Linked DNA regions of Homo sapiens: regions 2, 3, 4, 5, 6 and 7 are each linked to region 1. Evidence: promoter capture Hi-C in 16 types of primary human blood cells and fetal thymus (Javierre and others, 2016). All regions are on one chromosome and are shown on one strand. Each heading gives the region's core, a stretch centred on a gene start or on the middle of the fragment in contact. The rest is flanking DNA. Distances are from core to core; before and after follow the strand shown. Region 1 holds the start of CNTRL (centriolin). Region 2 overlaps MEGF9 (multiple EGF like domains 9). Region 3 overlaps MEGF9 (multiple EGF like domains 9). Region 4 overlaps MEGF9 (multiple EGF like domains 9). Region 5 overlaps CDK5RAP2 (CDK5 regulatory subunit associated protein 2). Region 6 overlaps MEGF9 (multiple EGF like domains 9). Region 7 overlaps MEGF9 (multiple EGF like domains 9).

Region 1 (4,002 bases), core at 272-2,771:
CAAAATACTCAAACCTCCATCCATTCCTCTTCATCCCAACCCAACTGCCTGCCTATTTGCCTTTCCATCCTAATACTCTAGCCCCCGTATCCTTCTCCATCCTATTAAAAGCCTGAATCCCCTCTCCCATCTCTCTTCTTCTGCTCAGATACCCTAAAACTCAAGCTTCCCATCTCTTTCCATTAATTATTCAATTTTATTGAGCAACTTTTATGTAGGAAGAACCATGCTAGAATCTAAGCTCAAGATGCAGAAGATTTTATCTCCCTATTACCCATGATCTCTGCACCAAGCAGTCTCCTTCATAGCATTTTATAACCATTATTTGTGAAACTACTTGGTTGTTGCCTGTTTCTCCTTCTAGACTATAAGCTACAAGAGAGCAGAGGTTTTGTCTGTTGTTCTATAAACAATAAATATTTGTTGACTGAAGGACTGTACTAAACACTTAGACAATACCAAATTTAAATCCTCAAAGATTTAGCTGTATAGGATCAGAATTATTAACCTGATTTACAAATGGCAATGTACCTGAACAGTTAAAAGCTTGGATTCTGGAACGAAACAGCCTGAGTTCAAATTCTGATTTTCCACTTACTGTGTGATCTTAGGCAAATTACTTAACCTCTCTGGTCCTCAGTGCTATCACTTTTTAAATGGGGATGATAACCTCATACAAGTTATTTTAAATTCTAAATGAGGTTAATACGTGCAAAGTGCTTAAAACTGGATCTGACAAATAGTGAACACCCAAAAATGATTCGCAATTATTTGGACAAATGAGGAAACATGATCAGGAAGGCTCAGACACATATCCAGGGTCACAGACCTGGTTAAGTTACACAAGGTGGCAGAATTGAGGCTTCAACCCAAGTTTGTCTGGCTTCAAAATTCTCTAGTCCCTTAACGAATATAACGGAAGTGTTTGTTCTTCCCCTTCTTTTAGCATTTCGTCCCCATATCCTGTCATCTTTCTCCACGCACTGTACTCCGTCCGATACCGTGACAACCCGTCAGGACGCCCAAACTGTCCTTTCTCCCGCTCACTCCCCACAGACAGCTGGCACATCCCAGCTCTCCCCTCAGCTCAGGTGGCAGGACCCACAACCTTCTGGGCGCCGCACCCTAACTTCCACACCTCCCCACACTCTGGTTCTTCATCCCCAATCGCCCCCGCCGTCCCCACCTCTTCCCATCCAAACCTCCCTCCTTCATCCACCGCCCCACGCCCGTTCCGGGCCCTCCCCTCTTTCCCGTCCAATCCCAATTCCCAGACACGCGCCCCCGCCCCGAATCCATCCCAAGCCGGCCCACACCACGCCCGGTCCGGGCCTTCCCGCCTTTGCCGCCGGCCCCCACTGCTCGGGCCGGATGCCGGGGAACGGGCTCGGCCAGGTCTGACGCTCACCGCCTAGAAGCCGAGCCGAGCAGTCCCGCAGGCTGAGGTAGAGCGGGAGAAGTTCGGGCTCTTTCCTCAGGGGCCCAGCGGCGCGGCAGCCATTTTGTTGTGTTGTGCCGGTTGCCGAGGGGCCGCGCGCGCGTGGTCGGGGCTAGTCTCAGCCACGCCCCTCTCCCTCTCCGGTACTGTTGGAAGGGACGCGGAGGCGTTTCCCGCCTCTTTTGCAGCCAGCGCGCTAGGATGCCGGGGAGTCTTGGGCGCGAGGCTTCCGGCCGCGCGGGGCCGACGGGATGCGGTGCCTTCGCCTTCGGATTGCGTTGCAGGTGAAGTGTCGGGTGCAGAGTCAGGGGGAGCCGAGGTTTCATGCGGCAGCTGCCCGCAGTGCTGTGGCCTTCGCTGAGACAAAGCTGCCGCCGCCACCCTCTGAAACACGGACACGCTTCTCAGGGCCTGTGTCCGAGGACGGCCTGAGGCACCGGCGCAGCGCCTCCCCGGCCTCCCCCACTTCTGATGCTTGCGCGCTATGAGCGAGTGTTCTTATCAGCACACTTCTCTCTGACAGTCGTATCTAAAGCGAATTCCCTCCAGGGACCGAACTGCCCAGGCTCGGATGAACCTCAAAGCGGACGCAGCCTGGGCTCCAGCTGTCGCGTGAGGTTCAGGGAGCTTGGGAATCCTAGGCAGAGGATGTTCCTCTGATTGCTACAAGGGAGTTAAAGCAAGAAGCACTTGCACAGGCTTCATCTGGGGCTTGCCCATGAGCACGGCGTTCACGACATGCATTCAACAGATATTTTAAAGAATTTAGCAGATACTGGGCTGGATGCTAGGGAAACACTGAAGTTTTTTTTAAAGTGTTATCACCATTGACGCCTTTCACTCCAGTAGCCTCCCGTTTTGAAGGTATACCCTGGACCATGTTACCATCAGAGGCTGCACCCGCTCCAGAAATCCCCAGTGCAATCGCTCCCCATCCTTGACTATAATCCTATCATCTTAGCAGCGTGCCTGCTCAAAAGACCCCTATGCCAGCGTATTTCTAAACTTCCTTGCGTCTTCCAGTCCCTTGTTCTTACCATTTTCTCGCGATCATTCTATCCTGTCTTCATTTCCTTTCTTCACTACAGAGTTTATAGGCCACCTGTATAACACTTTTAGAAACTCCCTCTCTCTCTGTGTCTCAGTTTCCTTATCTATGAAATGAGGTCCTTTTACCTATTAACACTTCCTACAGTTTTCCTGATAATTATAAAAGTGAATCCTGGCCGGGCGCTGTGGCTCATGCCTGTAATCCCAGCACTTTGGGAGACCAAGGTGGGAGGATCACTTGAGGTCAGGAATTCAAGATCAGCCTGGCCAACAAGGTGAAACGCCGTCTCTACTAAAAATACAAAAATTACCCGGGCGTGGTGGCGCACGCTTGTCATCCCAGCTGCTTGAGAGGCTGCAGGAGGATCGCTTGAACCCGGGAGGCGGAGGTTGCAGTGAGCCGAGATCGCGCCACTGCACTCCAGCCTGGACGACAGAGCGAGACTCCATCTCAAAAAAAAAAAAAAAAAAAAAAAGTCCAGTTTTCCTGATAATTATAAAAGTGAATCTCTGTGAAAGAACTTAGAACAGTGAGGGACCCATAGTAAGTTCTCAATATGTCTTAGATATTTCATTATTAGACAAAGGTTACCCAGAAGCAATACTTCTTTCTACGCCCAAAAGAAGAGTTTAGGCAAGGAGTAGGGAGGTGGGGAAGAATTTGCTTGGCAAAGGGAACAACTTGTGCAAACCCCGGAAGCGGGGGAAAAGAGCTTGGCAATGTGCTGAATGTTAAGTAATTCAGTGTGGCTGGAACAAAACATGAGTATGGAAACATGAAGTAGTTCAGTATGGCTTGTGCAAAAATCTGGGGTGGAGAAGCTAAATCTGGAAAAGGGACCATATTATAAGCAGTATTAGGCACTTCATTTTTCCTTAAGGCAGAGATGGCTTCACCTCTATAGGAAATTCAGGGGACGTCCAACAGGGAATAAGCTGCAATAAACATGGGGATGCAGATGTGTCTTTGATTTACTTTGATTTACTGATTTCCTTTTCCTTTTACTTAAATGTGATTCCCATTGACATTTAAGTGAATGGTGCTGTCCTCTCCCCAACTATTTACACGACACAGAACGAAGCCCTTGGAGTTTAAACGCAGAATTTTTGAAAAGCTCCACTTAAGAGGAGATTACATTCATTTTTTTTCTTTTCTTTTTTTTTTTTTTTTTTTTAATTTTTTGAACAGAGTCTGGCTCTGTCACCCAGGCTGGAGTGCAGTGGCAGGATCTCGGCTCAGTGCAACCTCCGCCTCCCGGGTTCAAGCGATTCTCCTGCCTCAGCCTCCCGAGGAGTTGGGATTACAGGCACGCACCACCAAGGCCAGCTAATTTTTGTATTTTAGTAGAAACAGAGTTTCACCATGTTGGTCAGGCTGGTCTCAATCTCCTGACCTCACGTGATCCGCCCGCCTCGGCCTCCCAAAGTGCTGGGATTACAGGCGTGAGCCACCGCGCCCTGCCGAGATTACATTCATTTTTAATCGAAGTTCAGGTGATATTTATTAGATTGGA
Region 2 (3,953 bases), core at 1,404-3,903, 430 kb after region 1:
CGACTGTTTACTATGTGCCAGGGTAAGTGCTTTATATTTACTGTCTTGTAAGGATAAAATAACAGTTAATTGAAGGTGATATATTCTATTTTACAGATGAAGAAACTGAGGCTTAATTTGCCCCAAAACAGACAACTAATAAGTGGCAGAAACTGGCTCAAATTAATATCTGTCTGACTATCCTGCCTTCAGTGGGTCCTAGTGTTTGTTAATTGGTTGGCCGAACCACTGCTTATTTTCAGTAAGCCTGATAGCCATCCTTTAAGTTTAGCTATCATACAAACAGATTCCTAGCATTAAAAATTATCCTCTGTGTGATCAAGGTAACATCACTAGCAATATGTCATGAATATTATGTATCCCTAATGTGATGAGATGAGAAAGATACATTACATTTGTGATAGTCTTCCTCAAAATTCATAACCTCATTCTAATTGTGACAAGAGATCAGACAAACCCAAATTGAGGGAAATTTCACAAAATACTTGTCAAGTTCCCTTAAAAGCTTCAAGGTCATAAGAGACAAGAAAAGACTGAGAAACTGTCAGATTGGAAGAGGCTGCGGAGACATGACGAGTAAATGCGAGACAATATCCTAGATTGGATTCTGGAACCGAAAAAATGGATACTGGTAGAAAAATTAGGGAAATCTGAGTAGTTAATAGTATTGTGCCATTGTTAATTTCTCCTTTTTGATAAATATGTCCTGATTACATACGAAGTTAAACAGGCCGAGCCTCATGGTGCCTCACACCTCTTATCCCAGCACTTTGGGAGGCCAAGGCAGGAGGATCGCTTGAGCCCATGAGTTTGAGACTAGCCTGGGCAACATAAGGAGACCCCATCTCTACAACAGATTACACAATTAGTCAAGCATGCTTGTAGTCCCAGCTACTTGGTGGTGCATGCATGTAGTCCCAGCTACTTGGGAGGCTGAAGTAGGAGGATCGCGTGAGCCCAGGAGGTCAAGGCTATAGTGAGCCATGATGGCACCAGTCTGGGCAACAGAGCTAGATCCTGTCTCAAAAAAAAAAAGAAAAAAAAAAGAAACATTAGTGGAAGCTGGATGAATGGTAGATTAGAACTTCCTGTACTATCTTTGCAACTCCTCTTTAAATCTAATATTATTTCAAAATAGAAAGTTAATAAAATTGTTATTTGAAGCAGTCATTCAAGGGAGTATAGACAGTATTATTTATTTGAGGGCAAAGTTGGTCCTTATGGTAATTCTTAGCCTTAAGTACAGAAGAGAAATTAGGATAAGGAAATAAACTTACTTTGTTGACCTGCCATTTTAGATGTATGACATTGTGGTTAGAATGTACAATCAAATTCATAGCCTATTTTAATGTTCTTTTTTCTCTGCAGTTTAAAATGAATAGCTTCTAAGACTCATGTTAGTAGACTTAGGCTAAAATAGAAGGCCTCTTGTTCCCACAGAGAAGGCTTTGTCTTCCTCTCTATTCCCTGAAAGAAAATTAAATCAGCATGACTTTTTCCATCTCAGATTTTTTTTTTTTCATAGCAAGAAATATGTTTCCTAGAGGATGGAGATAAATATGGGACTGTTCAGCTTTTTTTCCTCCCTGGATGTGATTTCTTCTCAAAATACCTAAATTTGTCAATCCTAGAGGGAGACTTGGACTTGAAGTTTCTTTAGATTTTCCATAAAAAGGGACACAAATGCTTCAGCCATGATTATTTTGACATAGTATATAGGACTAGTTTAAAAATTATAAATTCCATTATTATGGCTTTGTGTAGATTAAATGAATATTCTGGTGTGATATATTTTGTGTGTTTCAACAATTTGGGGTTTTCAATTTAGTTTTTCAGTTTGGGGTTTTCTACATACACTACAGAAGGAACATAGGCATGTTTCTCACATTGCCAAAAGCAGTAATGCAAGTATGGCTTATATTGTCAATAACAAAATCTCTTCCTTCTCTTTTGCCAGTTTCCAACACATATACCATGACCATTACTTTAATTAAGTTTTACTTTTGCTGGCCTTGAATTGATTTTCAAAGGGTTCTGCAATTGAATAGAATGTCCATTAAAACAGATATTGTGGATATTTGAAGGAAACATTTTTACAGAGAAATATATTAGCTTTCTTGACTAACATGTTCACCGAAAGAAGCTGCATAATCCAGGAGAGGCAGCAGGAGGAACAGAAGGAAATTAACATTCATTGAACACTTTAAACCTCCATTCTTGATGTTTTACACATAAAACCTCTCTGACTTCTCAGACAACTCATCCATTTTGTTCTTAGCAGCTAAATTACTTAGCGACATGGCATAACTAATAAATGGCAGAACTTAGATTTGAGCCCAGATCTGTCCGGCTCCAAGTCTCTTCCCACTGTACCCTGAAATAGAATAGGCAAAATTAGATATGGCAGTGTGAGCATCTCAATGTAAGTGCAAGGCTAGCTGTGGGTGAGTATGACTCATCAGTTTAGGTACTGGCCTATGGAAATATAAATCTAGAAATCAGACCTGGGCTACAATGAAAATAAATACTGAACAGAAGGCAACAATAAAAATTGTTAAGAGTATACATACAGAATCATTGGAAAGGAAAAGGCAGGAATTAGGGCATTAGAAATATTTAAAGCTAGGTCTGTGGTTTGGGTGTCAGAACATCTGACTTGCTTGGGTTTAAGTTAAAAGGCAGGCATTTGATATGTGAGAAGTCTGAAAGCAAGTGTCATGGACCTAGTCATTGTGGTGGAAAGTGGAGAGGCAGGGCCACTGAGACCAGGAGCCAGGCATTGAGAAACTAGGGACAATAGTTGTAATTAATCATTAGGAATATAGGGGACTGAGGACAAAGGAACCAGTAGCAAATGGGACTTGACAGACCGCTGAGGTTGATTGCCTTAAGTACCCTCTTCTTAGGTTAGAATTGATACCAAATTCAGGGTTCATCACTATGCCTGGAAGTGGAAAGTAAGTAGCTTTACCAGTCAGGGATAGGGATATAAAAAATAGAGTGAAATAAGTACAGTTAATTTAGTAGAGTAGTTCTCTAATTATGGTCCCCAGACCAGCAATATCAGTTTAACCTGGAAATTGCTTAGAAATGCAAATTCCTAGGCCCAACACCAGACCTATTGAATAAAAAAGTCTGGGATAGGGCCCAAGAATCAGCATGCTAAAGTTTCAGAACCACTGATCTATGTTGGTGGCTCTGAGTGTGTTGTCCTCAAAACCTAAGGTCAACTTATGCAGATGCAAACTAGAACTAAGAAAGAAGGGTTTTTTTTGAGGCATTTCAACCTCTATTCTTTGTTTTTATGAGAATTGTATAAGCTAAAGAGGCCCTATTCAGTAGGGTCATGATGGAATATTGGGGTTGAGCAAAATGGATTTTTCTTTGAGGGCTAGGACTTTTTCTTTCTATCTGCTCTTCTTTATCTTACTTTAATGAACAAACCTGAGGGATCACTGTCTTACAAGGTTGATTGGCCTATCATGGGCTAGTCATTGAATGTCTCATTTTGCTCACCTAGAATGAATATTCTATTTCCAAGATTCTAAGAGGTTTATTTAAGTGTGACATAAAGTGTCAAGATTAAGTGCATGCTATTCACAATAGCAAAGACATGGAATTAATCCTGATGTCCATAAATTGTAGAATGGATAAAGAAAATGTGGTACATATACACCATGGAATACTATGCAGCTGTAAAAAAGAACAAAATCATATCTGTTGCAGCAACATGGATACAGATGGAGGCCATTATCCTCGGCAAGTTAATGCAGGAACAGAAAACCAAATACCACATGTTCTCACTTATAAGTGGGATCTAAACATTGAGTACACATGGACATAAAGATGGGAACAGTAGACACTGGGGACTACTAGAAGGGGGAGGGTGGGCGGGGGGTAAAGGGTTGAAAAACTACCTATTGGGTACTACCTGGGTGATGGGATCATTCATA
Region 3 (3,763 bases), core at 1,233-3,732, 470 kb after region 1:
CATTTTATAGATGAAAAGGCTGAGGCACAGAGGAGCTAAATATCTTGTTCAAGGCTATACAATGTGTGTGATTATTAGGCTTGGAATCAGGGCCTCTAACTCTAAAGCACATGTTTTTTCAACTATATGCAGAAATTGCCTAGCCATGGACACAAGAAAGCTGGGAGGAAGAGTTCTACTTGTGGATGTTTTTAATTTTTTTTAAATATCAGGAGCAATCCAGGGCCATACAGCTATGAAGCACTTAGTGAAAAGAACACAAGAAGATTTACTAACTGAAGTTAGTATTAGTGATTAGAAAACAAAACTGCCAGTTTGTGCTTCATTAAGGTGAACTCATCTCTCCAAGCAGGAAGGGAAAATTTGCTTTCCCTAGCAGTTGCTGCATATGTGTGTACAGACTGCACAATTCTAAGAAATTGTGCAAAATGGCATACCTGTCTTTCTCCCAGATACACCGCCCCCTGCCCCCCCCAAAAAAGGTCAGGATTAAAGGTGGTGAGAAGTGAACATTTATTAAACAGAAGTTAAACCAATAGAGAGAAAGGAGGTTTGTTGGAGTCTAAGAGGATTTTGACCATGTAGAAATTCCTTGAAACAGACCTTAAAAGGTATTGAAAAATTGAATCACAAAGAAAGTTTACCTTTAAATACTTGTTAATGGCTCCTAGATCATGGTTATAATTTTTCTCAATGGGAAAAAAAGTCTTAAAATTTGTTTTAAATAAGATCCTCTAATGTCTCGAGCTTTTTGATTCTGGAAATAATTTGCTTTAAAATATAAATCAATCAGAAAGTGATCTACCACTGAAATCATTCTAGGAAACTAGCATGGGATGCACTGCACAATGTTCTTTCCTCTAAAGGCATGGGCCCCATAAACTGTGGCATCTGGCAGCAGGATGCCATCAGTCCTTTAGAAAGCCTAATTTTGGGCCGGGTGCGGTGGCTCACGCCTGTAATCCCAGCACTTTGGGAGGCCGAGGCGGGTGGATCACAAGGTCAGGAGTTCGAGACCAGCCTGGTCAACATGGCGAAATCCCGTCTCTACTAAAAACACAAAAATTAGCCGGGTGTACGTGCCTGTAGTCTCAGCTACTTGGGAGGCTGAGGCAGGAGAATCACTTGAACCTGGGAGGCAGAGGTTACAGTGAGCCGAGATGGCGCCATTTCACTCCAGCCTGGGCGACAGAGCAAGACTCTGTCTCAAAAAAAAGGAAGAAAAAGAAAGCCTAATATTGGGAGAATGTTTGTGTAAGGATTGGAAATCTGTTTATTTTTAAATAAGATAGCACTGATGTGAATCTTATTTGGAAATTACAGATACTGCCATTAAGCGATGCTTTTATCTTCATTAATTCATTTTGGTAAGCGCCTATGCATTTCTGATGGTTAGGTGCCCTAGGTAGTGTTAAGTATGTCCGTGTCCTCCCTTACTCCCCTCTCGCTCCCTCTACCCTCTATCCCCTAGGGTTCTTTTATTAATGGAATTTCTCCAGTTATAGAGAAAAAAATGACATTTGAAAACTAAAGCTCATTTATATTAATACTAAGGTCCTGTGGGCCTAGTGCGTTACTCTTCCCAGTGATACCTAGATTTTAAGAGTAGAGAACAGAGGAAACATGGGATGAGAGGAGAGAGGTTTTTTAGACAACATTTGTAGACACCTCAAATTATATCACTGTTCTCTAGCGCCAATATTCCCAGGTAAATTGACCATTAAAGCAATACTCACTGACCTACTAGTTTATTTTGGTCAGCTGAGTACCATCAGGATATTTAACCCTTTAAGTGCTGTTTTGGGAGTAGAAAACTAAAGCAACAATACTTCCTCTTGACAGCTTTGATTGGAATGGGGTTATTAGATCATTCACCTTGGTCCTACACTTTTTAGGATGCTTGGTGAACATAACACCACTTATAATGAACATCCCTGGTTCCTATATTTTGGGCTATGTGGGTAGGAATTGTTACTTGTTACTGCAGCAGCAGCCCTAGAAAGTAAGCCCAGGGCTTCAGATCTAAGTTAGTCCAAAAGCTAAATGATTTAAAGTCAAGTTGTAATGCTAGGCATAAGCACTCTATAATACATTAAATTATAGGCCGAGCAATTAGGGAATGTTTCTGAAACATTAAACTTGTATTTATGTCACTAAAATTCTAACACAAACTTAAAAAATGTGTCTCATACATATGCTGTACTAGGCTTCATCATGCATTTCTAAATTTGTGTATGATTTGAATATATGAAAGAATTTATACAAGAGTGTTATTTAAAATTATTAAAAATAAATGTATATAATTTGTACCTATTGTAGATTTGTTGTTTACTTTTTTGTGTGGTCAGAGTTGTTTCATGTCTTCAAATACATGCCAAGGATCATTTACTTTCAGCCCACTTCATAAAAATCTTTGAACTCTTCATTTATTGGCCATGTATTTTGTTTAAGTTCATTTAAAGAATGTTTTCTACTTGGGGGGAAAAAAATCCATGAAGAAGATTCCCTCTCTTAGAGGAAAACAAAACCTGAGAAGAAAATATATTAACATATATTTTTGTTTGTGCTTTTGCCTATTCCCTCTGACATCCGTCGGATTTTATAGAGAAAACTTGCTCGCTTTGGATTTCTTTGTCACACATATAAAGAATTTCCTTTCTTTGGTAGAAATCTGAAGAGAAACCATATTCTACCTGTTTATTAAGTAACTTGTAATGAGAGTACATCTTTTTAATATTTTAAGCTACTCTTGAAGAACCTGTATTTTGACAAAGCTAGATGGTGTTTAATGGGATGCCATCTGAGAGATTCCTTTATTTGAAAAAAAAGAAAAAGTCAGGCATTTCTTTGTGCTGAGAGCTTTATAAACTTAAACTGTTTTATTCAACTTCAGTTGGTTAACATTTAAATTTTTAAACTCTATTTTTTCTTTTCTAGCCACACAAGAAAACAGGTTTTATCACTTTATAATAACACCTTATGTTTATACATGTGGTTCTGTGATGTATATGAATTGGGTATTAAGGGAAAAGAATAAGCATGGCAGAAATCTAAACAAATTACAGTTTCAAGAGAAAGTATATATATACAAACAAGTAAGGACATTTGCGAGGTTGCATTATCAAAACTGGTTGTATTCATTTTCCATAGGAGTATAAAACATCTATGTTTTAAAAAAATTCCACATGCTCCATTATAATTAAGTCAGTAACTTCAAAGTAACAGTGTGCTTACTTATATTTTAAAAGTTAAGCTGAATTGGCCGGGCGCGGTGGCTCACGCTTGTAATCCCAGCACTTTGGGAGGCCGATGCGGGTGGATCACGAGGTCAGGAGATCGAGACCATCCTGGCTAACACGGTGAAACCCCGTCTCTACTAAAAATACAAAAAAATTAGCCGGGCGTGGTGGTGGGCGCCTGTAGTCCCAGCTACTCGGGAGGCTGAGGCAGGAGAATGGCGTGAACCCGGGAGGCAGAGCTTGCAGTGAGCCGAGATTGCGCCACTGCACTCCCGCCTCGGCCACAGAGCGAGACTTCGTCTCAAAAAAAAAAAAAAAAGTTAAGCTGAATTAAAAACGTTTTTCATGAGATGATAGCATTAGGAGTGTTGACAGGCTGAAAATCAACATTCTATCTAAATCAATGTTAAAATTGCAGTTTTACCTATAAGTTAGTCTTTCAAGGCAATTTTATGAGGAATTATTGTAGTAATTGTACAGGCTTTCTAGTACTTCCGTGTACAAAATGAAAGCCATCAGACAAT
Region 4 (3,680 bases), core at 571-3,070, 370 kb after region 1:
TCAGTAAAGATTTTTGAAAGAGGAATTCTCCTACTCTAACATTTTATGATAAAGAAATTTGGTAATTTATGAACTTACATTAAAATGTTTACATTATATTAAGCAGCAATATACATATGAGGAGAGAAATATACCAAAATATTAATTAGTTAAACCTAAGTAATGGGATTATGGGTAATTTTAATTACCTTCTTTGTGTTTTTCTGAATTTTTAAAGTTTTTTCGTGACTATATCCAATTCTAATTTTATAGTCTTAAAAATAAATGAATAACATTTAAAAATGAATAAAAAGTTCTGATAAGCTTGGTAAGTCTTTACTTATATAAGATCAAGTCAGATGATATTACCCAGGGCCACTTAACTATAATTTCTGTCATTGACTAAGCAAGTTTGATCTATATCAGGGTATTTGTTTAGTCTAAGTGAGTCAGGGTTTTGAATAAAGGAGACTATTCATGCAGACTGACAAATCTTGAACATACAGTAGGAATGACATATCTAAGATTTGGTACCTTTAGGCAAAATTTAACTGAGACCTTCAGCAGAGGCTGAAAATTGAGAGCTGGCTCTTTCTCCATTTCATTTTGTCTAGGTAATTTTTTTAATTAATTAATTTTTTATTTTTTTTTTTAGAGACAGAGTCTTGCTCTGTCGCCTAGGCTGGAGAGCAGTGGCGTGATCTCGGCTCACTGCAAGCTCCGCCTCCCGGGTTCACGCTATTCGCCTGCCTCAGCCTCCCAAGTAGCTGGGACTACAGGCGCCGGCCACCACACCTGGCTAATTTTTGTATTTTTAGTAGAGACGGGGTTTCAGCATATTAGCCAGGATGGTCTCGATCTCCTGACCTCGTGATCCGCCCGCCTTGGCCTCCCAAAGTGCTAGGATTACAGGCGTGAGCCACTGCTCCCCACCTTGTCTAGGTAATTTAAAGCATTCACTTGAACATTACTTAAAGTAGCTTATTGAAATAGATCTTGTTTAGATTGTGCAAAATTTGAATTCATGGCATTGTTCATAGTCTTTATCAATATATTTGATTATTTCTTCTTTAAAGTTACTGAGCCTCCAAAAGTTTGGTTTCAGTCTGTCCATATGTTTTCCAATTAGATCAGACGGGATTGCTGTTATACTGGTAATATAACAGCTGTTCTATATGATACCTTGCCAGGGAGACAGCTAAGCATTAAGGGAAGGGAAAATTTATTCATTTGGAAAAAGGAATACATTCTGCCTAGTCATAGGGAAAAAGATAAGGAGTAGGAATGTTGTCAGCCTGGCTGGAGAATGTTAAATAACCTTTATTTACTAAATTTTAGACCCTTTAGATAACTGAGTCTGAAAACTTATTTCAGTCTTACATGCTTCCAAGAAACTGGCATATTATCACAGATCTTATTAGATTTTTATCATTTATTTTTAATAATCTAGTGCTTTTACTTGATACATGTGAGCAAAAAGAAGAGATGAGAAGTAGTAGCATTGTTAACTACAAGGAGGATATCATATTTCCTACTCCTTTTTAATTTTGGAAATTGTTTTTTTTTTTTCTTTTTTTTGAGACAGGGTCACACTCTGTCACCCAGCCTGGAGTGCAGTGGCGTGATTGTGGCTCACGGTAGCCTTGACCTCCCGGGTTCAAATGATCCACTCACCTCAGCCTCCCAAGTAGCTGGGACTACAGGCGTGCACCACCATGCCCGGCTAATTTTTTTTAAACTAATTTTTTAAATTAATTATTATTATTATTATTATTTTTGGTAGAGACAGGGTTTCACCACGTTGTCCAGGCTGGTCTCGAATTCCTGGGCTCAAGCCATCTGCCCACCTCAGCCTCCCAAGTGTTGAGTTTACAGGCGTGAGCCACCGTGCCTGGCCTGGAAACGGTCTTTAAAGATGAAATTTCTTTAAAAATATTCTAGGAAAAGTGTAGATGTTATTCACTCTGAAGGAAATTGGATAACTTGAATAGATTTTTAGATTCTCTTAAGTCCTATTAATCATTATAGGGATTGGGAAGGGTTATTGGAAATAACGGGGGGGGAAGGACTTGCATTCCAATATATTTATCCTGTTGTGTTTGTTTATTGAGTCTTGATGAGAGGAAGGCATTGGGCTTTTTCTGCTGTAGATTTTTCATGTGATTTTATATTTATTGTAATCCTACAGTGTGTTTTATCAGTTCTATATGAATAGCACTAACATTATAGTCCCACCATCTATTGATGTTATGTGAGTTATTGAATAGTTATAAAGTGTACCAAAAACCCAAAGCAATCTAGTTGTTGGGTATTATTATACTGAATTGTTGGTGTATTGCCTGCAAACCTATCCTGTTCAACTGGTTTTAGTTTTTAAGTTAGTTTGTTGCTTCAACTTGTCCGCAAAGGCAGGGCTGGATGGTCCAGCTAATCAGTAGAATCGAAGTCAGAAGAACTAAATTCTAGTCTTTCTATTCACTTTTTGAGTTATTGAGTATATTTTTTGATGACTCTATGACTCAGTTTCCCAGACTATAAAATGAAACTTCCAGTCACCAAAGGTTTTTGAGAAGTAACACATGTAAACTACTTTGGGCTTTCTCAGACATAAAGGCTTTAATATTCTTTCCAAGTTACATGGTTTATATTAGCTTATAATGGAATGTGACCAAGATAGCTTTGATTAAACACAACAAAGAAATAAACACATTCATTTATATATGGCTTCTTTACACAAAATATATTTTTATGCTATTTTGTAGTTGACATATTTGTATAATTTAACAATTATGGTGTTTTCCAAAGGTTTGAGGTCCTTTAGTATTATTTTTCTTCCCCACTACCTTGAGAAAACAAAATAATCTTTATCTCATATTAAACTCACAACATATATAAGTTGTGCTTTATGTAATATTATTTTTGGTTGATCTGTTTAGAATGGGTTCTACTTACTTTTTTTTTTTTTTTTTTTTAAGAAACACGGTCTCACTCTTTCACCCGGGTTAGAGTGCAGTAGTGTGATTGTAGCTCACTGCAGCCTCGAACTCCTGGGCTCAGGTGATCCTCCCATATCAGCCTCCTGAGTAGTTGGGACTACAGGCATGTGCCACCATGCTCAGCTAATTTAAAAAAAAAAAAAATTGTAGACATGCAGTCTCGCTATATTGCCCAGGCTGATACTATACTCCTGGCTTCAAACAATCTTCCTATCGCAGCCTCACAAAGTGTTGGCATTACAGGTGTGAGCCACTGCACCTGGCCAGTTTTTTTACAATTATAAAAATAATCTATGTTCATTTTCTACAATAAACATTGTAGAAAATGAAAAATAGAGAAAAAAGCTGTCCCATAAAGCTTTTTTAAAATCACTGATTGAGTTTAATATTTTATTACTGCATATATTGCTTCATTTCTCATGATAATAAATGAGATCACTTGCTTGTTATGAAAACAGAGGTGCAAGTAGGATTTAACAGTCTTCTGAAGACCAATATAAGACAGATCAAAATGTGAAAAAATTCACCACATTTAAATTATTTATCATGTCACCAAAAAGAAAGTAAATCTATTTTGATCTAAGACCCCATATGATGCTTTACTTGAGACTTGGTACTCCCTGGCAGAATCAAGTCAGTGACTGTTTTTCTTGTGTCTGATCCAGCACAAACATGATTTGTCTTTGGTTCACGTGGCCCCTGAAA
Region 5 (3,441 bases), core at 360-2,859, 500 kb after region 1:
TGCCTCGTGGGTTCAAGCGGTTCTGGTGCCTCAGCCTCCCAAGTAGCTGGGACTACAGGCACGTGCCACCATGCTCGGCTAATTTTTATATTTTTAGTAGAGACGGGGTTTCACCATGTTGGCCAGGCTGGTGTCGAACTCTTGACCTCAGGTGATCTGCCCGCCTTGGCCTCCCAAAGTGCTGGGTTACAGGAGTGAGCCACCCCGCCTGGCCCTCATTGTGGTATTGATTACATGTTAATGGCTACTGATGTGTTGAGCATCTTTCCATGTGCCTTTTAGCCATTTGTTCACTTTCTTTGGAGAAATGTGTATTCAAATCCATCGTCCATTTAAAAAACGTGAATATATTTTGACCCAGCAATTCCACTTCTTGTCATCTATTCTAGAGAAATCCTCATACTTGTGCATATGGGACCTTATAAGGACATTCATATGACATTGCATGTAAAAGAAAAACTTGGAAACAAATTGAATTATCATCAGTAGGGGATTGGGTAAATACACATCCTTTCAAAAGTATCTTTCAGACTGTGGCCCGTTGGTAGCTCATGAAATTCAATTTAGTAGGTTGCAACCAGGATTTAGAAAAATAGAACAGAATAGAAAACATTTCAAGGATGAAGGGTAATAATATTTCTTCTGTGGCTCATGGTCAGTAAGGTTTGAAGAACACTGCTGTAGAAAGCTTTGTAGGAGTTGAAAACTTTGAGGCATATCTATTTGTACTGTCATGAAAACATCATGAGGGCATATTAAGTAGAAGAAGGATGTTGTAGCATGATGTATACTGTTTGATTGCATGTGTTTTTAAGCAGCAAAATTGAAACTATCTATGTAAAAACACATAAAAAGTTCTGGAAGTTATAGGTCTTTTTGAAAACAGTGATTACCTCCTAGGCGGGTTCTAGATGGGAGCGAGGAGGAGCCAAGGAGAACTTTAGGCTTATCTGTATTTTTTTAAATTTATGTATTTTTCTCTAATTAAGAATAAAATAGAATGAAAAAGGGGTTGTTAAAAGACAAAAGTGAGTTTGTTTGTGTAATCGTTGTCAGAATGTGATATCTGGTCTCATCCATGACTCTCATGAAACAATTTGTCAAGGAGACATAAGACCCCTTGGGTCTTATGGTTTGAGTGGACAATTGTTGCTGGCATATGTAGGCATAGAAAGAGGTCAGTCCTTTTCGGTAGCAATAGAGCAAGATAGGAGGATGAGGTGGTGGAGCTCAGGTGAAGGTCCATTCAGTCACTCAAAAATTATCCACAAACAGTTGCTACAGCTGGGCGCGGTGGCTCACGCCTGTAATCCTAGCACTTTGGGAGGCTGAGGCGGTCAGGTCACCTGAGCTCAGGAGTTCAAGACCAGCCTGGCCAACGTGGTGAATCTCCATCTCTACTAAAAGTACAAAAAATTAGCCGGGCGTGGTGGTGCATGCCTGTAATCCTAGCTACTTGGGAGGCTGAGGCACGAGAATCGCTTGAATATGGAAGGTGGAGGTTGCAATGAGCTGAGATCACGCCACTGCACTCCAGCCTGGGCGATAGAGTGAGAGTCTCCAAAAAACCAAAACAAAACAAAACAGTCGTTATGATGGCTGTGCCCTGTGCTGAGTGATGGAAATTTTATGCCTCAGTCCATTCGGCCCTTAACCACCACCACACCCCTGCCACCCCCAACCTCCGGGAAGGCGTCAGGGGTACCAGGGTGGTGTAGGTTCACAGCAGGGGGTTTAAAGTCAGGCTGGCTTGGAGTTTCCAGCCTATTAACTTTTTGGTCTTTGTTTCCTCATTAAAAAAAAAAAAAAAAAAGGCAACATTAAAAAGTACCACCAGCCGCAGAAAGACTATAGTGAGGATTAAACCTGATTTTAGTTTCAAACATTCAGTTTAGAAAATGGACTTTAATCCTGTGGTGAGGATGAAAGGGAAGGCTGCCTGTCCTGTGCTGAGTGTGGTGCTTGTGCAGCATGGGTGCCCCATACAAGGGCAGGTTTCTTAGATTGTGCTTTATTTTGCACGTGAGGAAACTGGTACTCCACCATGTGTCACATTTATATAGGAGCTTTGGGCAGTCCACACACAGGCTAGCAAGTGGAAAAGACACTGGGATCCTGGATTTTGGGCTTGGCTTTGCCACTAACTTTTGTGATTTTGAGTAAATAAGTTCCTAACCCATTTCTGGGTTTCAGTCTTCTCATCTGTGGAATAAGATCATATCTGAGCCCTTTTGTTTTGCTTACATTGTCATTTCTCGTGAGTATCCCTGAGGCCCCAGCCTTAATTATAAGGCTACAAGTGAATGATTAGAATGGAAAGAGGGAGCTGCTTGTGGCTGGAGGTGTAGTTGGAACTGACTGGAGGGTGCAGATGACAGATTCATAGCATTTTAAAAGTGGGTAGGTAAAGCCCGAGTGGAAATTTGGCAGGATCCAAGCAAAAATTTCTGCATTACATAGTGGTTTTGTCTAAGAGTTGGGATGTCAGATGTCATTTTTCAAACTTCAGTGTTTGCCTGTAGGAAGCTTGTCTAAGACCAGAATCTTTGGCTTTGTTTGCTAGGTACTTTTCAGCTGTGATTGATCTTGGCTTGAGTTATTCATGGGCAGTTTTAGCCAGTGGGAGTTAATGTAATGGCTCTGGTACCCGGAGAGAACCCCAGATTGAGAATGCAGGACCAGACCTTAGGCTGAGCTTGGCCAATAACCTGGTGTATGTGACCTTGGGCTTCTGGACCACCATCTGCAAAAGGTGATGGTTGAACTTGATTTTAGTTTTTAAAATTCAGTTTAGAAAATTGACTTTGTCCTTTTAGTGATGTTTATTGGAGGAAATTGAGAATTATATAACATTAAAAAGGAAGAAAACCTCTCATTTCCCTACTAATGATGATTTTTAATATTTCAGTATATTTCCTTTGTCTTGTTATATATCTGTAGCCCACCTATTTCCAAAATGGACTTGAGGTGACTTCAGTATTTATGTACTGTATATATTTGTTTTCATAATTGAGGACATATTCTGTTTACGTTTTTTCATTTACCTTTACAGGGGACACTTTTTTTTTTAAATTTTTTTTTTTTTTGAGATGGAGTCTCACTCTATCACCCAGGCTTGAGTGCAGTGGCATGATCTCAGCTCACTTCAACCTCTGCCTCCTGGGTTCAAGTGATTCTCCTGCCTCAGCCTCTCAAGTAGCTAGGACTACAGGCACCTGCCACAATGCCCGGCTAATTTTTGTATTTTTATTAGAGATGGGGTTTTACCATGTTGGCCAGGCTGGTCTCGAACTCCTGATCTCAAGTGATGCACCAGCCTTGGCCTCCCAAAATACTGGGATTATAGGCATGAGTCACTGCACCCAGCCCGGACACATTTTTTTGTGATCATTTTCTTAATGTTGGAATTTTATGATATTTCCAATTTTTTGCCTGTTTTTG
Region 6 (3,647 bases), core at 347-2,846, 410 kb after region 1:
GACATAAAATAAACAAATAAGCTGCCAATATTTATTTATTTATTTTACGTTAATTATTTTTTATGAGACAGGTCTCACTCTGTCACCCAGGTGGGGGTGCAGTGGCAAGATCTTGGCTCACTGTAACCTCAGCCTCCCAGGCTCAAGCGATCCTCCCACCTCAGCCTCCCGAGTAGCGAGGACTACAGGCCCATGCCAGGATGCCCGCCTAATTTTTGTATTTTTTTTGGTAGAGACGTGGTTTCACTATGTTGCCCAGGCTGGTCTCAAACTCCTGAGCTCAAGTGATCTGCCCACCTTGGCCTCCTAAAGTGCTAGGATTACAGGCATGAGCCACTGCCTGGTCTATTTATTTGTTATTTGTTATCTTTACAAACTAGAAGAGCTGTGAAGAGCAGGGAAATAAAGTGACACCAAAGGTTAGGAACTGCAGAAGTGTGGGAGGTATAGAGTTGGCCAAGTGGGAATTTCTTTGAGGAATCTTTTGTTTTGACTTGTGTGGATAAATAAGCTGCTTGTGATTACATAAAGAATTTTGAAGCTTAATTTCCTTTTCTAGAATGGAGAAGCAAACCCCTTTACAACTCTCTTTTTAAGAGTCTGGATTTGTAGTTGTCTAGTAGCTTTTTGAAGTCATCAAAAATAGTATCAAAGATTATTTTTTCCAAGCTAAACTGTGTTGGTACAGTGCCATTTTATATAGTGCCTTACCTATTTAGAACTGTAATTTGTACCATAGATTTCTCAGGACCCTTTAAGGGTAGGATCATAGCTATTTTGGAATGGGACCTATTCCTAGGATACATATGTTAATACAAAGTCCTCTGTTACTGCTGTGTCAAACTATGTTGAAAACACTTTCCTTTTGATAAAATGAATAGAGGCAGTAGCAAAAAATGAATCCTAACTGACCTTTAAATGAGTCTTTGCATTAGAAGGCTAAAACTAAGGGCTTCTCAATATTTTTATCCAAAGAACTGTCTGACTGCGAAGAATAGTGGACAGGGGTGTGGTGGGGAGGAAGTGGGGATGGTTAATGGGTACAAAAAAAAATAGAAAGAATGAATAAGACCTAGTATTTGATAGCACAGCAGATAGACTGTGGTCAATAATTTAGTAATTTATGGACAGTAATTTAATTGTACATGTTAAAATAACTAAAGGAGTATAATTGGATTGTTTGTAACACAAAGGATAAATGCTTAAGGTGATGGACACACCGTTTATCCTGATATGATTATTACACATTGCATGCCTATGTCAGAATACCTCAGGTACCCCATAAATATATACACCTTATACACCTATGTACTCACAAAAATTAAAAATTAAAGTATTTCTTTCGAAAAGTGAAAAAAGTGAAACCAACAAACAAACAACAAAGAACTGTTTGAAATATACTTAAAAGAAATGTTTATTTTCCAAATATTTTAATTTGGGAAAGACATTCAACTCACAGATCAGGATGAACCTGTAAACTTTCTCCTCTGGTTTTATTGTTCATCATTTCCTTACTTTAAAGTTTCTATTCTTCATTAATTTCTTCCTGGGCAGAACACATTAGCTTATGATTCTAGCTATGGCACAATCTAGTATGACCTTGAATCGGTTGCCAAAGTTAATCATCTGAGCCTTAGGCTTTTGCTGCTATACAGTGGGATTATTTATTATTTAACATGTTGTCATTTCCAACATGTGCCCTTAGTGCCATGTAGATAAGCCTGCCTTTGGTGGCTTCTAATTCAGAAAAACTAATAATACACACACACACACACACACACACACACACACTGTCACACACACACTACATAATTTATGTACTCTATATGTTTCCTGATTTAAGTAAACTAAACGGGATAGAAAGTAAATTTGAACTAGAGTTAATTTTATCTATCCTTACAAAGTTGTCATGAAAATTTATTAAGAAAAATAAAATAGAGTTCATTTTATTAAGAGGGCATTAAATCTTAGTTGGTAATGTCTCTTTCCTTCTTTCCTTTGCAGAGTATGTATGTAACTGCTCTGTGGTTGGAAGCCTGAATGTGAATCGCTGCAACCAGACCACAGGGCAGTGTGAGTGTCGGCCAGGTTATCAGGGGCTTCACTGTGAAACCTGCAAAGAGGGCTTTTACCTAAATTACACTTCTGGGCTCTGTCAGCCATGTGACTGTAGTCCACATGGAGCTCTCAGCATACCGTGCAACAGGTAAGCAACAGAGGGTGGAACTGAAGTTTATTTTATTTTAGCAAGGGGAAAAAAAAGGCTGCTACTCTCAAGGACCATACTGGTTTAAACAAAGGGGGATGAGGGTCATAGATTTACAAAATATTTTATATACTTTTATTCTCTTACTTTATATGTTATATTTAATGTCAGGATTTAAAAACATCTAATTTACTGATTTAGTTCTTCAAAAGCACTAGAGTCGCCAATTTTTCTCTGGGATAATTTCTGTAAATTTCATGGGAAAAAATTATTGAAGAATAAATCTGCTTTCTGGAAGGGCTTTCAGGCATGAAACCTGCTAGGAGGTTTAGAAATGTTCTTATGTTTATTAATATACCATTGGAGTTTGAGGAAATTTGTTGTTTGGTTTATTTTTCTCTCTAATCAAAATTCTACATTTGTTTCTTTGGACATCTAAAGCTTAACCTGGGGGTACCCTAATTTATTTAACTAGTGGTAAGTAGACTGGTTTTACTCTATTTACCAGTACATTTTTGAGACCAAAAGTAGATTAAGCAGGAATTATCTTTAAACTATTATGTTATTTGGAGGTAATTTAATCTAGTGGAATAATGTACTGTTATCTAAGCATTTGCCTTGTACTGCACTGAAAGTAATTATTCTTTGACCTTATGTGAGGCACTTGGCTTTTTGTGGACCCCAAGTCAAAAAACTGAAGAGACAGTATTAAATAATGAAAAAAATAATGACAGGTTATACTCAGTGTAACCTGGGTATAACCCAAGATCTGCTGCCACTTAGGAGCTGTGTTCCTTGGGCAAGTAATTTCCTTTCACTGAGCTTGTTTCTTCTCAAGGTTGTTGTGAAGATTAAATGAGTTGATATATATAAAATGCCTAGCACATGTCACTCAATAAATTCTGGTTTGTTTTAATTTCAAAGGAATATTATGGACTGAAATGAGAGAACATGTTTTAAGAACTTTTAGCTCCTTGACAAAGAAGTGCTTTATACTTTAGCACTAAATATTTTAAATGCTTTATAAATGATATTATACTGTTATGGAATATTGTATCATATTGTAGTTTATTAAAAATGTAGAAGAGGCTGGGCGCGGTGGCTCACGCCTGTAATCCTAGCACTTTGGGAGGCCAAGGCGGGTGGATCACTTGAGGCCAGGAGTTCTAGATGAGCCTGGCCAGCACAGTGAAACCCCGTCTCTACTAAAAATACAAACAAATTAGCTGGGCGTGGTGGCACACACCTGTAGTCCCAGCTACTCGGGAGGCTGAGGCAGGAGAATCGGTTGAACCCGGGAGGTGGAGGTTGCAGTGAGCTGAGATCGCGCCACTGCACTCCAGCCTGGTGAGAGAGGGAGACTCTGTCTTAAAAAAAAAAAAAGTAGAAGAGAACTTCATTAAGAAGTTTATAATTTCAAATGCAGCAATAATCAATGCTT
Region 7 (4,016 bases), core at 278-2,777, 450 kb after region 1:
TCTTGGTACTTTACTAGCAACATGTCATTAAGACCAGATAAGCAAATTTTATCTTAAATTGTTAGCTGATCTCATAGTACAGATGTCTGATTTCTATTTAAAATCCAGTTCTACACATTTATTCTCCAGTTATGAAGCTGTGGGTTTTGGTTCTTTCATTTCAAATCTATGGATAAGCATAAGTGGTCTGTTCACAGCCTTTTTTTTTTCTTTTTTGGTTTCATTGCATTTATATCATTGACCTTTGCTTCAGAAAGCATTCAAGTCTTTAACAGAGAGAGACCATGAAAGGGAGTGTTGTAAAGTCTTTATTCTACGAAGGAAGTCACACAGGCAAAGCTTTATATTTGCTGAGTGATTTCTTTTCTTTCTTTTTTTTTTTTTTTTTTTTTTTGTGAGACAGAGTCTTGCTGTCACCCAGGCTGGAGTGCAGTGGCGCAATCTTGGCTCACCACAACCTCCACCTCACAGGTTCAAGCGATTCTCCTGCCTCAGCCTCCCGAGTAGCTGGGACTACAGGTGTGTGCCACCATGCCCTGCTAATTTTTGTATTTTTAGTAGAGACGAGGTTTCACTATGTTGGCCAGGCTGGTCTCGAACTCCTGCCCTCGTGATCCACTCGCCTCAGCCTCCGAAAGTGCTAGGATTACAGGCATGAGCCACTGCACCTGGCCGATTTAAATCTTTTTTTTAAGAGACAGAGTCTCCCTGTGTCGCCCAGGCTGGAGTACAGTGGCTATTCACAGGCCCGATCATGGCACACTCAGCTCAAGAGGATGGCTTCAATTCCCTGTGATGTCATTTCCTGCCTAACCAGTCAGCACTTCTGGCTCCCTGGTTTCACCCCACCCACCAAGTTGTCCTTAAAAACCCTAATCCCTGAATACTTAGGGAAACTGATTTGAGTAATAATAAAGCTCTGGTCTCCTGCACAGCTGGCTCTGCATGAATTACTCTTTCTGTATTGCAATTCCCCCATCTTGATAAATCAGCTCTGCCTAGGCAGTGGGCAAGGTGAACCCATTGGGTGGTTGCAGGATTAGTCTCCTGTGTTTCTTGGTCTGTGGGGCTTTATGAGAGACAGGTTTAATTTGAGATAAGTGGACCCAGCTGTTTATTCCTGTTTAACTGCAGTTGGAGTAGTTCAGGCAGCCTAGAACTCCTGGGCTCAAGTGATCTTCCTGCCTCAGCCTCCTGAGTAGCTGGGACTATAGGCATGTGCCACCATGCCTGATAAATTTAATTCTTATACATGCAGAAATTGGCCTTGGGCCATGAATAACATGATGCAAAAGCACTAGTAGTGCAGCCTCACAACCAAAATTCCTCACTTCATTTTTTTTTTTTTTTTTTTTGAGACGGAGTCTCACTCTGTCACCCAAGCTGGAATGCAGTGATATGATCTTGGCTCACTGCACCCTCCGTCTTCTGGGTTCAAGCAGTTCTCCTGCTTCAGCCTCCCAGGTAGCTGGAACTACAGGCACACACCACCACTCTGACTAATTTTTGTATTTTTGGTAGAGACGGGGTTTCACCATGTTGGCCAGGCTGATCACTGGTCTTGAACTTGTGACCTCAAGTGACCCACCCACCTCAGCCTCCCAAAGTGCTGGGATAAAGGTGTGAGCCACCACGCCCGGCCTATATTTTCTTTTAAAAGAGAGAAAAGCACCTTTTTTTTTCTTGTTGTTTTAAAATCTGGCCATGCATGGTGTCTCATACCTGTAATGCTAGCACTTTCGGAGGCCAAGGCAGACGGATTGCTTGAGCTCAGGAGTTTGAGACCAGCCTGGGCAACAGGGGAAAACCCTGTCTCCACAAAAAATACAAAAATTAGCCGGATGTGGTGGCGCATACCTGTAGTCCCAGCTACTTGAGGGGCTGAGGCAGAAGGACCACCTGAACCCAGGAAGTTGAGGCTGCAGTGAGCCGAAATCACGCCACTGCAGCCTAGGGGACTAAATGAGACCCTTTCTCAAAAAACAAAAACGAACAAAAATCACCCAGGAAAAAATAAAGCATGGTATGTACACTCAGACAACTACTTTATCAAGATTCATTAAGTCACTTTAAATCAGCAATTAAGGAGCAGATCCTCCAGATAGAAAGTCTTTTAGTGCCCCAAGAATTATTAAGGGAAAACCCACTTCAGGAATAGCAACTACTTTGGGAACATTGGCTATATTATGGTTACACAATATTATTAAGTGATTTTGTGTTCGAAACTAATACCTTCTTCTTGTAGGTTGTGGGTTAGGCAAACACCATCATTGAAAGTAACTGTTTATCCTTTTGTATATTGAATAACATATTTAGAGGAATGAGGAGTAAGCATATTTTGATTAACATTTTAAAAGCCTTGGAAATAAGCTGATGAAGTGTTGTAAGCCATTCTTTGAAAGGTACATTATGTTCTTTATAATTTTCTGATAGTATAGAGTGGCTTCGATTGACTGGTTCCTTCTTATTGAGTCATAAAATATTCCTGAATTTTATTTTTTATGAATACAGGTTTTCTTTGCTAGATCTTTAAGTACCTTGGGATATTCTTGTGTAAGACCGTATATGTGTGTGGCTTCTTTTCTTTTTTCTTTACTAAATTACTTAAGATTCATAGATTCATGCTTGATAGTATAAATTAGATAATGTAAATTTTTGTTGCATTTTTAAAAACATCTCCTATACTATGATCAGTACAAATTTTATTTAAGCTTTAAACATCAAAATATTTGGGCTTCTATCTCTGAGAACCTTTGACTTTGTTAGGCTGCAGCTTCTCTTCAAGCAATAAGATTTCTCAGCCTTTGTTAAAGACCTGAAATTTACTTGCAGTGAGAAAAGAGAGCAAGATTTATTGTGGACAGGGCATAAACACCATCACTGGAGTCAGGACCTATATAGATGGTGAATTGTAATGCTTTGGATCTACAGAATGAAGCTTGATACCTAAGTGGATATCAAGTTATTTGGCAGACAAATTTCTTGTACCAATTTAGAGTCAATCTTAGGAGTAGATAGTATGGTGGGGAAAAGTCTGGCTTTGTATGAATAGACTTGACTTACTAGCTGAGGACAGTAACTTTATCTGAATTTTCTCAGTAGTAAAATAAGTATTATGACCCTCACCAGGTAGAACTACCTTGAGGATTAGAGAAAAAATATATTTATTGACATAAGCCCTCAATAAATGATAGCTCATTGCATCATCATTATTACTCCTGCTTTCAAATGCCTCCATTTTAAATTTTCTGTAAAATTATTTGTTAGCTAAGAAATTGCATTATGCAATACACTAGACAGCTTTTAATAGCAATACAGAATTTGATAGGTGATTTATTTGGACACAAGGCTTTGAGATATGGTAAGTATATATGATTTACATGAGCTGGGCTTTCTTTCCCTTCTGGGGTGTTACTCAATACAACTTTTAAATTGATTTACTTTTATTCATTGTCTTTGCTTTTATTTGCAGTTCTGGGAAATGCCAGTGCAAAGTGGGTGTCATTGGCTCTATATGTGACCGATGCCAAGATGGATATTATGGCTTTAGTAAGAATGGCTGCTTGCCCTGCCAATGCAATAATCGGTCTGCCAGTTGCGATGCCCTCACAGGTACGTACTTTCCTTAACTTTGTCATGTAATTATTCCACTGTTCTTTTAATTTGGAAATCTTTCAGCTATAGGTTGATTCTTCTGAAATAGTTTGGAAGGGCCTTTATCTTCTAAGTAGGATGTACTAGATCACAGCAAGCCAAACTCCTGCTACAACAAACTTGAAAAAGTACGTAAATTAAAAAAAAAAAAAAAAAGTCATATACCTATGGAGGCAAGGAGAACTATAGGAACTAAAATTCCAGAAAGGTTGGAACTCTTCCTAGGTAAACTGATGATCACCAGCCATTGTCTTTCCAGGGGACATTTGCTGATTCTGAGCATAGGCAAAGAATGAGCTAGACCCAAGCAAAGGAATTCTTTAGGAAAGAGATACAAGAAATGTTTTTGGCAGTCATTTGAG

The links. The method cuts DNA at HindIII sites, captures the fragments that hold promoters and counts their contacts. A CHiCAGO score of 5 or more calls a contact.
Region 2: a contact is called between a fragment that was not itself captured here and the fragment with the promoter of CNTRL in region 1, in 10 of 17 cell types (naive CD8 T cells, non-activated CD4 T cells, total CD4 T cells and 7 more). The highest score is 9.1, in naive CD8 T cells.
Region 3: a fragment that was not itself captured here is called in contact with the fragment with the promoter of CNTRL in region 1 in 1 of 17 cell types (monocytes); the score reaches 6.1 in monocytes.
Region 4: a fragment that was not itself captured here is called in contact with the fragment with the promoter of CNTRL in region 1 in 10 of 17 cell types (total CD4 T cells, naive CD4 T cells, non-activated CD4 T cells and 7 more); the score reaches 13.3 in total CD4 T cells.
Region 5: a fragment that was not itself captured here is called in contact with the fragment with the promoter of CNTRL in region 1 in 8 of 17 cell types (activated CD4 T cells, erythroblasts, naive CD8 T cells and 5 more); the score reaches 7.2 in activated CD4 T cells.
Region 6: a contact is called between a fragment that was not itself captured here and the fragment with the promoter of CNTRL in region 1, in 12 of 17 cell types (monocytes, erythroblasts, neutrophils and 9 more). The highest score is 11.1, in monocytes.
Region 7: a contact is called between a fragment that was not itself captured here and the fragment with the promoter of CNTRL in region 1, in 10 of 17 cell types (non-activated CD4 T cells, total CD8 T cells, naive CD4 T cells and 7 more). The highest score is 9.9, in non-activated CD4 T cells.

Annotation. Positions count from the first base shown.
Region 1 is chr9:121,072,474-121,076,475 of GRCh38, reverse strand. It overlaps CNTRL (centriolin), which reads right to left and starts at 1,521. Exons shown (of 44, transcript NM_007018.6): 1 at 1,409-1,521. It also overlaps a transcript of C5 not described here. RefSeq lists silencers at 1,117-1,256, 1,377-1,436, 2,061-2,257 and an enhancer at 1,557-1,946. The HindIII fragment of the contact is 4,047 bases long and covers 549-4,002 here.
Region 2 is chr9:120,640,794-120,644,746 of GRCh38, reverse strand. The region is part of intron 2 of MEGF9 (multiple EGF like domains 9); the gene reads left to right. Among named protein-coding and RNA genes, the nearest start is that of CDK5RAP2, 63 kb to the right of the region's middle. The HindIII fragment of the contact is 4,292 bases long and covers 508-3,953 here.
Region 3 is chr9:120,599,473-120,603,235 of GRCh38, reverse strand. It overlaps MEGF9 (multiple EGF like domains 9), which reads left to right. Exons shown (of 6, transcript NM_001080497.3): 6 at 1-2,425. Among named protein-coding and RNA genes, the nearest start is that of CDK5RAP2, 21 kb to the right of the region's middle. The HindIII fragment of the contact is 7,657 bases long and covers 1-3,763 here.
Region 4 is chr9:120,698,996-120,702,675 of GRCh38, reverse strand. All of the region lies in intron 1 of MEGF9 (multiple EGF like domains 9), which reads left to right. Among named protein-coding and RNA genes, the nearest start is that of MEGF9, 14 kb to the left of the region's middle. The HindIII fragment of the contact is 3,030 bases long and covers 306-3,335 here.
Region 5 is chr9:120,573,194-120,576,634 of GRCh38, reverse strand. All of the region lies in intron 1 of CDK5RAP2 (CDK5 regulatory subunit associated protein 2), which reads left to right. Among named protein-coding and RNA genes, the nearest start is that of CDK5RAP2, 5.3 kb to the left of the region's middle. The HindIII fragment of the contact is 1,838 bases long and covers 691-2,528 here.
Region 6 is chr9:120,657,933-120,661,579 of GRCh38, reverse strand. MEGF9 (multiple EGF like domains 9) reads left to right here. Exons shown (of 6, transcript NM_001080497.3): 2 at 2,005-2,206. Among named protein-coding and RNA genes, the nearest start is that of MEGF9, 55 kb to the left of the region's middle. The HindIII fragment of the contact is 2,106 bases long and covers 544-2,649 here.
Region 7 is chr9:120,622,212-120,626,227 of GRCh38, reverse strand. MEGF9 (multiple EGF like domains 9) reads left to right here. Exons shown (of 6, transcript NM_001080497.3): 3 at 3,473-3,612. Among named protein-coding and RNA genes, the nearest start is that of CDK5RAP2, 44 kb to the right of the region's middle. The HindIII fragment of the contact is 2,372 bases long and covers 342-2,713 here.